Linked DNA regions of Homo sapiens: regions 2 and 3 are each linked to region 1. The links are contacts of gene promoters, found by promoter capture Hi-C in human tissues and cell types (Jung and others, 2019). All regions are on one chromosome and are shown on one strand. Each heading gives the region's core, a stretch centred on a gene start or on the middle of the fragment in contact. The rest is flanking DNA. Distances are from core to core; before and after follow the strand shown. Region 1 holds the start of INIP (INTS3 and NABP interacting protein). Region 2 overlaps SUSD1 (sushi domain containing 1). Region 3 holds the start of POLE3 (DNA polymerase epsilon 3, accessory subunit).

Region 1 (3,554 bases), core at 751-3,250:
AGACACCCAGTAAAACAGATTGTTCATTGTTTATATTCTAATAGTCAACATTTATTGAGTTCTTATTATGTGCCAGGTGCTATTCTAAGTGATTTACGTATACCCAATCACTTATTTTTATTCCCATTTTATAGATGACAAAACAGAGGCACCAAAAGGTTAAACCAGGGCTCACCATCATTAAGTGGCAAAGCTCGAATTTGCATTCAAGTAAACTGACTCACTATTAACCACTGTGTTAGAGGTTAACACAATGAGGCAGAAGTTCCAAAAACTCTAGGAGAAGACAGAAGGGTTTCAAGGGCTATGACCTACCAAGTAAAAGGCAAAAGAATTGGCAGCAAGTTAAATTTATCTTTCTCCTGATAATGTTCTTTCAACTCTCAGAGGCTGAATTTGCTAAGAAATTATAAAATGTTGTTTAGGGTTAGAACTGTTTTTACTCCCACCTCCTTAAATAAGCTTTGTTCAGAATGTCCATTTGAAACTTAGACTGGAACTTTCTGTGCCCTAGTTTCTATATTAGCTAGGCCACAAAACAAAAAAAAATTCTAAGGTTCTATCAGCCATATAGATCTCAGTCATCTTTTTAGTCATACTAGAACTCACCAAGTCCTCTTAACTGAAAGGACTCCTGGCCTACCATCAAAATGCTCATGTGTTAGGCTTTATATCTGGATTAAAGTCAAGTCAGCAAGAACTGGTCTCAGAGGAATTCATTCCTCCAGAGCAGAGGCAATGTGTGAGATTTAAGAACTCAGGCCTTAGCATCTGGCAGATCTTTAAATTTGAATCTTAGCTCGCTACTTGACATAGAGCAAGAAACATGAGTCTCAAATATAAATCAGGGAACAGCAGGACCAGAGCTGATGCACAGGAAGCACCTCGCATTGTAGAAGGCACTCAATAGCTGCTTGGTATAGAGTAAATACATGCTTGGTTTTCAGTAAATAAATACTTGATATTGAAACGATTATTTCAGTCATTGATCCATGCACAAGAAAATTGTGCATCATAAACATTTTACTCTTGAGCAAACATCAATTATTAAAAACATATGTTCAAATTCATTATCCATTCTATTTAATTAAATGCTTGAGGCGCTTGGGGAGCTTACATTTGTGATTTAAGTCTGTGCGTTTTTCAAATGTATCTTTCGGAAGAGATTAAGACACTGCAATTTTAAGCAGGGCAGGTGGCTCACGCCTGTAATCCCAGCACTTTGGGAGGCTGAGGTGGGCAGATCCCTTGAGGCCAGGAGTTCAAGACCAGCCTGGGCAACAAAGCGAGACACTGTCACCATAAAAAATATTTTTTTAAATTAAAAAGAGTGCAATTTGAACACATGTCAATATACGATTACCTTTTAATTCAAATGTGTAGCTATCTACTGTGCTGGAATCAGGTGGGCAGCAGGTGATCCCACTAGTGGCAACTTGGTGTTCTGCGATGTGGCACATCCACTTCTTAAATGCAGATTATTGCACTGTAATAAAAATCCTCCATATTCAGTGCTTTCATTGTGTATAATTATGTAAACTGTAGACAAAAAATATTCCTGAATTTGTGTGTGTGTGTGTGTGTGTGTGTGTGTGTGTGCGGATGCGCAATCCGAGATGGTTGTTAAAGCTCGAAAGCGAGTTTAGCTTCTAGAGTCGCCCCTCCTCCGAGGCCCAGCCGAGGTGGACTCGCACCGTCGCAAGACCGGCCAGGCGGTGGCAATGAATAAAAAGCCAGTCTTGGTGCTAGGGACCCAGGTGTTCTCCGTCCCGCCCCTGCCTGGCAGCCCCGCCCCTCCCCCGCCCCGGGCCACGCCCCACCCTGGCCCAGCCCCCAAAAGTACCGTTTGCATCTCCCGTGAGCCTCTTCGACTGTCACTCTTTGGAAAAAAAAGTGACGTCTGCACTGAGGTGGCCGCTAAAGTGCGAATCACGACGGGCGGTGGCCGTTGGGTCCCGGCGGGAGGCGGGGTTTCCGCTCCCTGGGGCGCACGTCAGTCAGGAGGCGGAAGCGCAGCGGGGGCGGGAAGGTTGTAGTGCCGCGAGTTGAGCTCCTCTTGCCTAAGTGGTCGCGCCCCCTTTAAGAGCAGCGATTGTAAGGAGAGGCGGTCCCGGTGTCCTCGGGTCCCAGGTAAGTACGACAGTCTGGAGGCACCGGGCAATAGAAAAGTGTGGCTCCGGTGCTAACCTGTCGCCGCCGTCTTTGTTGCTACAGGCAGCGACCTCCCTTCCGACCTTGCCACCTAACATTTCTGGCTCCTACTTGCTTCCTTCGTCTCGTTCACAGCCCGGGCCCAGCCGGCTCTGCACATCCGTAGGCAGGGACCTTTCTGGCACGCCAGTCTACCCTGTCACAAGATGGCCCTGTTGTCCTCCAGTCCTAACCCCGCATTGCTCGCTCTGTGTTTCAGCCGCTGGAGACACCTAACGATTCATTTACTAAAAACCGGTGTCTGTTTTCTATCCCTTGTGTCTTTCCCGGGCTCCCTAGACTAAGGCATCACTCTTTGCTGCCAATGAAATCAATTCTTTGCCTCCGGCACTGTGCCCACCTTTTAAAGAGCGGGTTTGTTAAGCTTTTTTTTTTTTTAATTAATAGTATGGTTGCTTGAATAAGACTTTATTTTCCCTTCTGAAAGCAGGATTAGGGTCTTGCTCATCTTGGATCTCCCCAGGATTTAGTACGAAAGCACGAAGTTTGGAAACCAGCAGCCCAAATAATTCCTACTAGCTCTATGACCCTGGGTACGGTTTCCTCATCTATAAAATGGTGATAAATAAATAAAGGAACTAATTTCGAGCATGTTACACAGTGTATGGTGCAGAGCAGATACAGTACTCCTTTACCTTTTTTAGCTTTCAGTGTACACAGTAGTTTTTGGGTATGTGTTTTAGACGAATGCAGAGACACCATAGATGAATGATTTTTCTTCCTAGCACCATGATTATATTGACTCTATCAATTGGTTGATATATTTGGTAAATACAACCTAATGACGTTTATTAAAGACAGTAATGCTAAATGGTATGAACATCTGCAAGAATAAACAATGCCGTATTTAATTAAATGCTTGAGGCACTAGCAGAGTTTACATTTGTTTCAGTCTGTGTACATTTCAAATGTATCTTTCTTTCTTTTCTTTTTTTTTTTTTTTGAGACCGAGTCTCGCTGTCTCGCTCTGTGGCCCAAACTGGAGTGCAGTGGCGCGATCTCGGCTCACTGCAACCTCCGCCACCCGGGTTCAAGTGATTCTCCCGTCTCGCCCTCCCGAGTAGCTGGGACTGCAGGCGCTTGCCACCACACCCGGCTGATTTTTTTTTTTAATTTTATTTTTAGTAGAGACTGGGTTTCACCATGTTAGCCAGGATGGTCTCGATCTGCTGACCTCGTGATCCGCCCGCCTCGGCCTCCCAAAGTGCTGGGATTACAGGCGTGAGCCACCGCGCCCGGCACAAATGTATCTTTCTGAAGAGATTAAGAAACAGCAAACATTTCATTGTAAGGAGGCTAGCTGTTCCTTTTAGTTTGTGATTAAAATATGGTGCATTGTATAT
Region 2 (3,508 bases), core at 206-2,705, 670 kb after region 1:
CAGTTTGGGTCTGCCTGATGGGACCCCTTGTCCATTTCCTCCAAAGCCTTTCCTTAGAGATGCAGTGGGAACATTTCTGCTGAGCGCTGTATAGCTTAAACCTTTGCCTTGGAAGAGTTATCCAGGCGGGGAAATTGCCTTAGGGTTTGAGCAATCACAGGTCTTTGTTTTCCAGGCTCGGGATTTCCCTGGCAGTACAGTACATTTCTTTAAAACCAACAGGCAGCCAGCCAGTGGATTTGATTCCCAGGAATTCCATTAGTTTGTAGCTAATACCAGAAATCTTGTTGAGTTTATGACCTTGGAATCTGGACCTTTTCCGTGTGGTTTGTGGGTCCTAGCAACAGGCTGTCAAGTTCTGCCCTTAGCCCACAGTATCAGTTTAACCCTTTACCTCCTCTCCCCGCCTCAGAGCAGCATAAAACAATCAACTGGCATGGTGAGGAAGTGCCAGCATAAACTTGCTTCCCTAAGGATTCCACTGGATAGCACTTTTTAATGGGGAATTTTTTATCCTGTCAGTAGAGAATACTGTGCAGGAAATATCTGGGAGGGGCCTGGGGAATTAGGCTTCCTCCATTTGTCTGCTTCTCTCCTGATCTTATTTTCATCTTTTTACCTCTGCTCAAACCAACTGCAACAAGGGTAGAGGACTTGGCTTTTCAGCAGGGTGCAAGGCGGGTTACCTGACTGTCAGCCATCTTGGATTGCTGATGACCAGGCAGTGAGGGCCCCTCTTGACAAAGATGGGTGCTGTCCTGTTTCTGTGTGCAGATGGGCCAAGTCCCTTTACTTGTAGGACTTTAATAAAGGCCACACATTCCAACATTCATAAATTTTTTTTTGCCAGTCCATCCCCTGAAGCTCTAGGATTGGGCATGGCGTTCTCACGAGGAAAAGAGATGCTTTTATCAGAATAATTAAGATGACAAAGCTTCCAGACACAAAAATAATAGCTTCCAGAATCCACTCTACTCAGCAGCTGTTTGCTATGATTGGAAGACATTCAAACTGGGTAGAAGAAATCGCCAAAGAGCTGGCTGCAGTCATTCTGCTATGATTAAATTAACAGGGAGGATTTTGCTTTGAAAATATCTAAGTGGCTTTGGCAGTGCTCTGGTTTCCCCTCAGCTTGAGAACCAATATTGAAGGAGAGTTTGAGCCTTTGAAATTAAACCACTGGAAATCTCTGGAAGATAATAGGAAAAACACTGTTCTGTGGAAATTCTGAAGGCAATTCTAGCAATACTTTTTTATGTATAACATTTACCTGTGTTGTGCACCCATCTTGGGCAGTCTACTTTTTCAAAAAAGTTTGGAGACTGCCATTTCAGAAAGTAATTTGCAGAGAACCGAGATCTAAATTAGTCCTGAAATCGTGCCAGTTCACTCGTGCCAAGGCTCAGCCCCATTCTGGCCTTTGCCCAGTGACAAATTATGCTATTTACCTTTTGCATATTGCCCCTAGAAGAGCTTTGTAAAGATGATCAGGAAACCAGCAGTCGGTTTGATGGAAGATGCAGAGGCCTGGGCTTACTTGCCTGAGTCTTCTGCTACTAATCAGCCAAGTGTCTTTGAAATAGTATTTAACTTGGCCAGTTCTCAGTCGCCCTCTCTCTGGGATCTCTGAGATGCTTTCCAGCCACAGAGTATTATGAGTCTGTGATTTCTTGAGTCACAAAGCAAGGTCATTTGATATATGTGAGATGATAATAAGCTGTAATCGGGGAACATTCTCCAGTCGTAAGCATGAAACCTCTGAGTTATTCGGGACTACTCCTTTTTCTCTTTCAGCCCACATTTAGCACCTTGGGCACGCCTCTCTGATTTTCATTTCTGTGTTCACTCCCTGAGCATAGGCCTTCCTACCTGTAGCAGGGATGACGGGCAAATCCTCCTTCCTCATCTCCCATCACAAGAGTTCAGAATTTCCCTCGTCATTCCAGCCTACACACCACCACCTGACTTGTTTCTAAACTCAGAACTGATTTTGTTTCCTCTGCTTCTGTGGTCCTCCATTATTTTTCAGTTTGGCTTCCAAGTCCTCTATTTGACACAAACATACCCTTCTAATTACATCTTTTATTCTTCTCCATTCAAACCAATGTTCCAGCTGTTTTCTGGCTATGGCCCATGCTTTCTCCTCTTAATGTCCTTGCTCATATAATTACTTGACGACTTCCATCTGGATTTCCTGATCACCCACCTGTGAATCTCTGCTTATCCCACCTGTTTTTCAAGATTAAAATCAAATGCCCTTTCTTCCCTGAAGCTTTTTAAATTTTCTCAACAGGGCAGGATCTGCCCTTCTTTGGCTATTCTGCTATATTTTAGAGCAATGGGTGTGCACTTGTTTTGTCTGTCTTCTACTACTAGATTTTACACCCTTGAAGGGCATTTGAAGAGGAGGAACAGAGCCTGGCATGCATTAGGTGTTCAATCAGAATGCACTGAATTGGGCTGAATGATTACTGAGGAAGCAGCAGTTAGTTTTATGGGAAATGAAGCATAGGAGGTGCAATACTTATCAAATAAGCCAGAGAAGACTTACATCAGGATATAAACCTAGTGTGTATGTATACATATGTATTTACTGTATATGTACATATATGTGTATATATGTACATATATACATGCACACAATCATTTTAAACCTTTATAGTTGTGATGGGAAGAATTCTAATATGGTTCCCAAATTCCTTGTCTTTGGTATACATCTACCTTCTCTCAGTTATTCATTCAAAGACTGTTCTAGGTATTGCTGTGAAGGGATTTTGGAGATGTACTTAAGCTCCCGAATAGGGAGATTATCCAGATAGGCTTGACCTAATCACAGGAGCCCTTTAAATCTGGATCTAGAGGTCAGAGATAGGGGAAGTTGGAGCTTCAAAGAATGAGATGGATTTGACATAGGGAAATTCTCCTGCAGCTTGAAGATGGAGGGGTCCACATGGCAAGGAGTGCAGCTTAACAGAAGGAGCTGAGCAAGGCCTGGCTGCAGCCAGTAAGAAAATGGGGACCCTAGTCCTATAACTGCAAGTGTCTTAGTCTGTTTTGTGTTGCTATAACAGAATACTGGAGGCTGGGTAACTTATTAAGAAAAGAGGTTTATTTAGCTCATGAGTCTGTAGGCTGGGAAGTTCAAGAGCATAGTACTGCATCTGGCCTGCTTCTGGTGAGGGCTACATGCTCACCAGAACAATGGTAGAGAAGTGGAAAAGCCAGCAGGTATATACAAAGAGATCATGTGATGACACAGGAAGCAAGAAAGAGTCTAGGAAGTTGACTCATTTTTATAACAACTAGCTCCCTGGTAATACAGCCCCTCCAGAGCAAGAACTCACTCACCTCTGAGAGAGGGCATTAATCTGTTCATGAGGGCTCCAACCCCATGACCCAAATAGTTCCCACTAGGTCCCAACTCCTGACACCACCACATTGAGGATTAAATTTCAAGTGAGTTTCAGAGGATATAAACTCAAACCATAGCAGCAAGGAACTGAATGTA
Region 3 (3,563 bases), core at 655-3,154, 690 kb before region 1:
CTTTTCCTTTCTAGAGGTGTTTTAGGCAATCACTAACTACCACCTTATTCCTAAGAACTTTTTAAGGACAGTGTCCATTTCTTTCTTTTATTCAACACATTTATTGATTACTAAATATGTGAGGGGACCTGCTTTGGACATGAACAGTAATAAACAAACTCCCTGTTCTAAACAGTTTCATAATTTAGATCAAAGATAAACTATCAGCCTGGGATTGCACCTGGCCTATTACTTGTTTTGTTTGGCTAGCACTTTGAATCAATTTTAAATTTGAATCAATTTTAAAATTGAAATAGCCCACAATGTCCTTTTAGGGACCAAAATACTTGACAACACTGAGCCCAATTCCAGTTGAAGAGCAACTGACTAGCGCTGAGCAGCCCTGATGGTTTCAGCCAGGTCTGTTCTATCCAAGCGGAGTTCCCCCACCAGACCTTATGGTCTCTAATTGAAACACTTTCAGTTGCCATTTATCATAGCATTTGCTCTTTTGTTTTAAAATATTTCTCTATAATCAGGCTTCTATCGAAAGCAGGAAAACTACAGGGCGACTTGGGACTGCATGCTTGACGGGAAAAAAAAGCAGCATTAATTCTCAGTGGGAGGCTGGGCGCCGTGGCTCATGCCTGTAATCTCAGCACTTTGCAAGGCCGAGGGAGAATCACTTGAGCCCTGGAGTTCGAGACCAGCCTGGGCAACATGGTGAAACCCTGTCTCTACGAAAAATACAAAAAATTAGCTGGGTGTGATGGAACGCACCTGTAGCCCCAGCTATTTGGGGCTGAGGTGGGAGGACCACCTGAGCCAGGGAGGTCGAGGCTACAGTGAGCCGAGACCGTGCCGCTGCACTCCAGCCTGGGGGACGGAGTGAGACCCTGTCAAGAAATTTTAAAAATTAAAAAATAAATAAAATCAGTGGGAGTGAGAATTTCTACGAACTTAATATAAAAATAACTTAAAAACAACTTAAAACACCATTGCGCCGGGCGCGGTGACTGGCGCCTGTAATCCCTGCACTTTGGGAGACCGAGGCGGGCGGATCACGAGGTCAGGAGATCGAGACCATCTTGGCTAACACGGTGAAACCCTGTCTCTACTAAAAATACAAAAAAATTAGCCGGGCGTGGTGGCGGGCGTCTGTAGTCCCAGCTACTAAGGAGGCTGAGGTAGGAGAATGGCGTGAACCCGGGAGGCGGAGCTTGCAGTGAGCCGAAATCGGCGCCACTGCACTCCAACCTGGGCGACAGAGTGAGACTGTCTCAAAAAAAAAAAAAAAGAAACGCCATTGCAAAACCTTGAGAATGGTTTTAACTGGAAAAAATGTATGATGAACAATTTAACTGAAAAATAAATACAATTTTAACACGGTTTGTTTTTGAAAGCGAATGTGACGTTGCATTCTTCATACAGTGAAAAGGCTGCTTCTCGCCCTTTCGTTACCTGCCCAGTCCGAATTGACTCCTGAGACCTAATCAGGCGCATCTCTATATGGCCAGCATTATCCCTGGGCTGCCTAAATAGTTCGCGTTAAACACAAACAACAACAATAAAATCTAAATAACACTCAGTCTTAGTACCATTATTACAAAAGCGTGAGGGGCGAAAAGATTAAAAATGAACATCAACTTCGGTAGAGATGGAAAAAGACTGCCCACTCCATTCCAGGAAAGAAAAAAGAAAGTGGGAGAATCTGATCACGACGGGCTGAGGTCCTGTGAGAGCAAAGCAGATTCCAAACCGCTTAGGGTTGCTAAATCAAGTGGTAAAACGTGGCCCCTTGCGGCGCGGTGAGATTAACGGACCCGGCGGGCCCAGAGCCTGCCTCGGGTCCTAAAGGGATCCGCCCCGCCGAGTCAGCCACGCCTTCGTCTCCCACGCGCTGCGCCCGGCCGCGCCGTCACCCAGCAGCGGCGCAGGGCACCATGGGAAACGGACGGAAGCTCCATTGAGCCAAATAAGTTGGTGAGAAGGTTCCCGACGCGGCGATGGCGAGAAGCAGAGAAATGGACCTGGGGAGGGGCGTGCGGGGTGCGGTAGGGTTGGATGGAAGCCTTGGCGGGCCAAAACCACTGCGGCTTCAAAATCCGGATGCGCCGGTATTTGAGGCGGAGGCGGGGCTGTGGGGGGAGGAGGGAGGCTATGGCGCTCAGAGCACTGTGGGACACTGTAGGCCACGTGGGGCGGAACGGAAACCTCGCAGGGTCAGACCGTAGCGACGCGGGAAGTCCGGACGCAGTAGCTCCCTGAAGCGGAGGCGAAGGGGAGTTTAAGCCCCAGCGGCGGCAATGGCGGAGAGGCCCGAGGACCTAAACCTGCCCAATGCCGTGATCACCAGGATCATCAAGGAGGCGGTGAGCAGCTCGGGGGGGGCGGACGAACGGGCAGGAGGGAAGCAGGTGCTGGAACGGCAGCTTTGCTCACCCCCGGTCTCCTCGCAGCTCCCGGACGGTGTCAACATCTCCAAGGAGGCCCGGAGCGCCATCTCCCGCGCCGCCAGCGTCTTCGTGCTGTACGCCACATCCTGGTGAGCGGGACAGAGGCATAAGGGAGGCGCGGGGATACCTGGCTGGGAGTTGCTGGCTGGGAGCCTACAAACCCCAACGATTGTGTTCTCCCTCGGTGGGGACATGTTCACAGTCCTCTGCCAGTTTTTACAAGTTCTGAAGCAAAATAACACAACAAAATCACTTTGCTTTAGCTTTTTTGTGCAGAGAAGGGAAGGACTTATCCCTGTCACACCAAAATCCATACATGTAAGAGGCAGGCTTTCCCGTTCCACCTCTGGGTGCTCCTTTTCCCACTCACGCCTTACAAACAAGAGGGAGTCTGACAGCCTTTCTCTTCTCTCAGTGCTAACAACTTTGCAATGAAAGGAAAGCGGAAGACGCTGAATGCCAGTGATGTGCTCTCAGCCATGGAAGAGATGGAGTTCCAGCGGTTCGTTACCCCATTGAAAGAAGCTCTGGAAGGTAACGAGCCTCTTGTCTTCTAAACCACATAGAAGATGGTCATCCTGTGTGACCTGTTCACCAGGCCCTGAGCCTTCTCAGCGCGGGTCCCTTTAAGTCCAGTAAGCCAGCACTTGATGTGACTCGACCCAGTTCGGTGGGCACCACCTCAGATCTGTTTTGTAATGCTGAGCAAGTTATTTTTCCTTCTCTGCCTCCGTTTTTGTTTTTGTCTTGCTTTTCTTGTTTTTGTTTTTTTTTTTTTTTTTTTGAGACGGAGTCTTGCTCTGTCACCCAAGCTGGAGTGCAGTGATGGGATCTCAGCTCACCGCAGTCTCCTCCTCCTGGGTTCAAGCAATTCTCCTGCCTCAGCCTCCCGAGTAGCTGGGACTACAGGCGCACGCCACCACGTGCGGCTCATTTTTTATTTTTGTAGAGACGGGGTTTCACCATATTGGCCAGGCTGGTCTTGAACTCCTGACCTCAGGTGATCCGCCCGTCTCAGCCTCCCAAAGTGCTGGGATTACAGGCGTGAGCCACCGCGCCCATCTGCCTCCGTTTTTCCAATTGTACAATGTAATTAGCTCCTGCAGTCCGTCTGGCTCACTTTCAGCT

The links. Contacts are between HindIII fragments. The study calls those that stand out against the background at their distance.
Region 2: a fragment that was not itself captured here is called in contact with the fragment with the promoter of INIP in region 1 in 1 of the 25 tissues and cell types used here (heart left ventricle).
Region 3: a contact is called between the fragment with the promoter of POLE3 here and the fragment with the promoter of INIP in region 1, in 1 of the 25 tissues and cell types used here (adrenal gland).

What each region holds. Positions count from the first base shown.
Region 1 is chr9:112,716,563-112,720,116 of GRCh38, reverse strand. It overlaps INIP (INTS3 and NABP interacting protein), which reads left to right and starts at 2,000. Exons shown (of 5, transcript NM_021218.3): 1 at 2,000-2,130. RefSeq lists a silencer at 1,789-1,948 and an enhancer at 2,319-2,418. The HindIII fragment of the contact is 8,739 bases long and covers 1-3,554 here.
Region 2 is chr9:112,047,502-112,051,009 of GRCh38, reverse strand. The region is part of intron 15 of SUSD1 (sushi domain containing 1); the gene reads left to right. Among named protein-coding and RNA genes, the nearest start is that of LINC02977, 8.8 kb to the right of the region's middle. The HindIII fragment of the contact is 4,177 bases long and covers 1-3,508 here.
Region 3 is chr9:113,409,016-113,412,578 of GRCh38, reverse strand. POLE3 (DNA polymerase epsilon 3, accessory subunit) reads left to right here and starts at 1,904. Exons shown (of 5, transcript NM_017443.5): 1 at 1,904-1,962; 2 at 2,171-2,351; 3 at 2,439-2,524; 4 at 2,851-2,969. The coding sequence starts at 2,286. It overlaps C9orf43 (chromosome 9 open reading frame 43), which reads right to left and starts at 1,832. Exons shown (of 14, transcript NM_001278629.2): 1 at 1,578-1,832. RefSeq lists enhancers at 305-1,204, 1,823-2,012, 2,253-2,532, 2,105-3,004, 1,907-3,106. The HindIII fragment of the contact is 6,520 bases long and covers 1-3,563 here.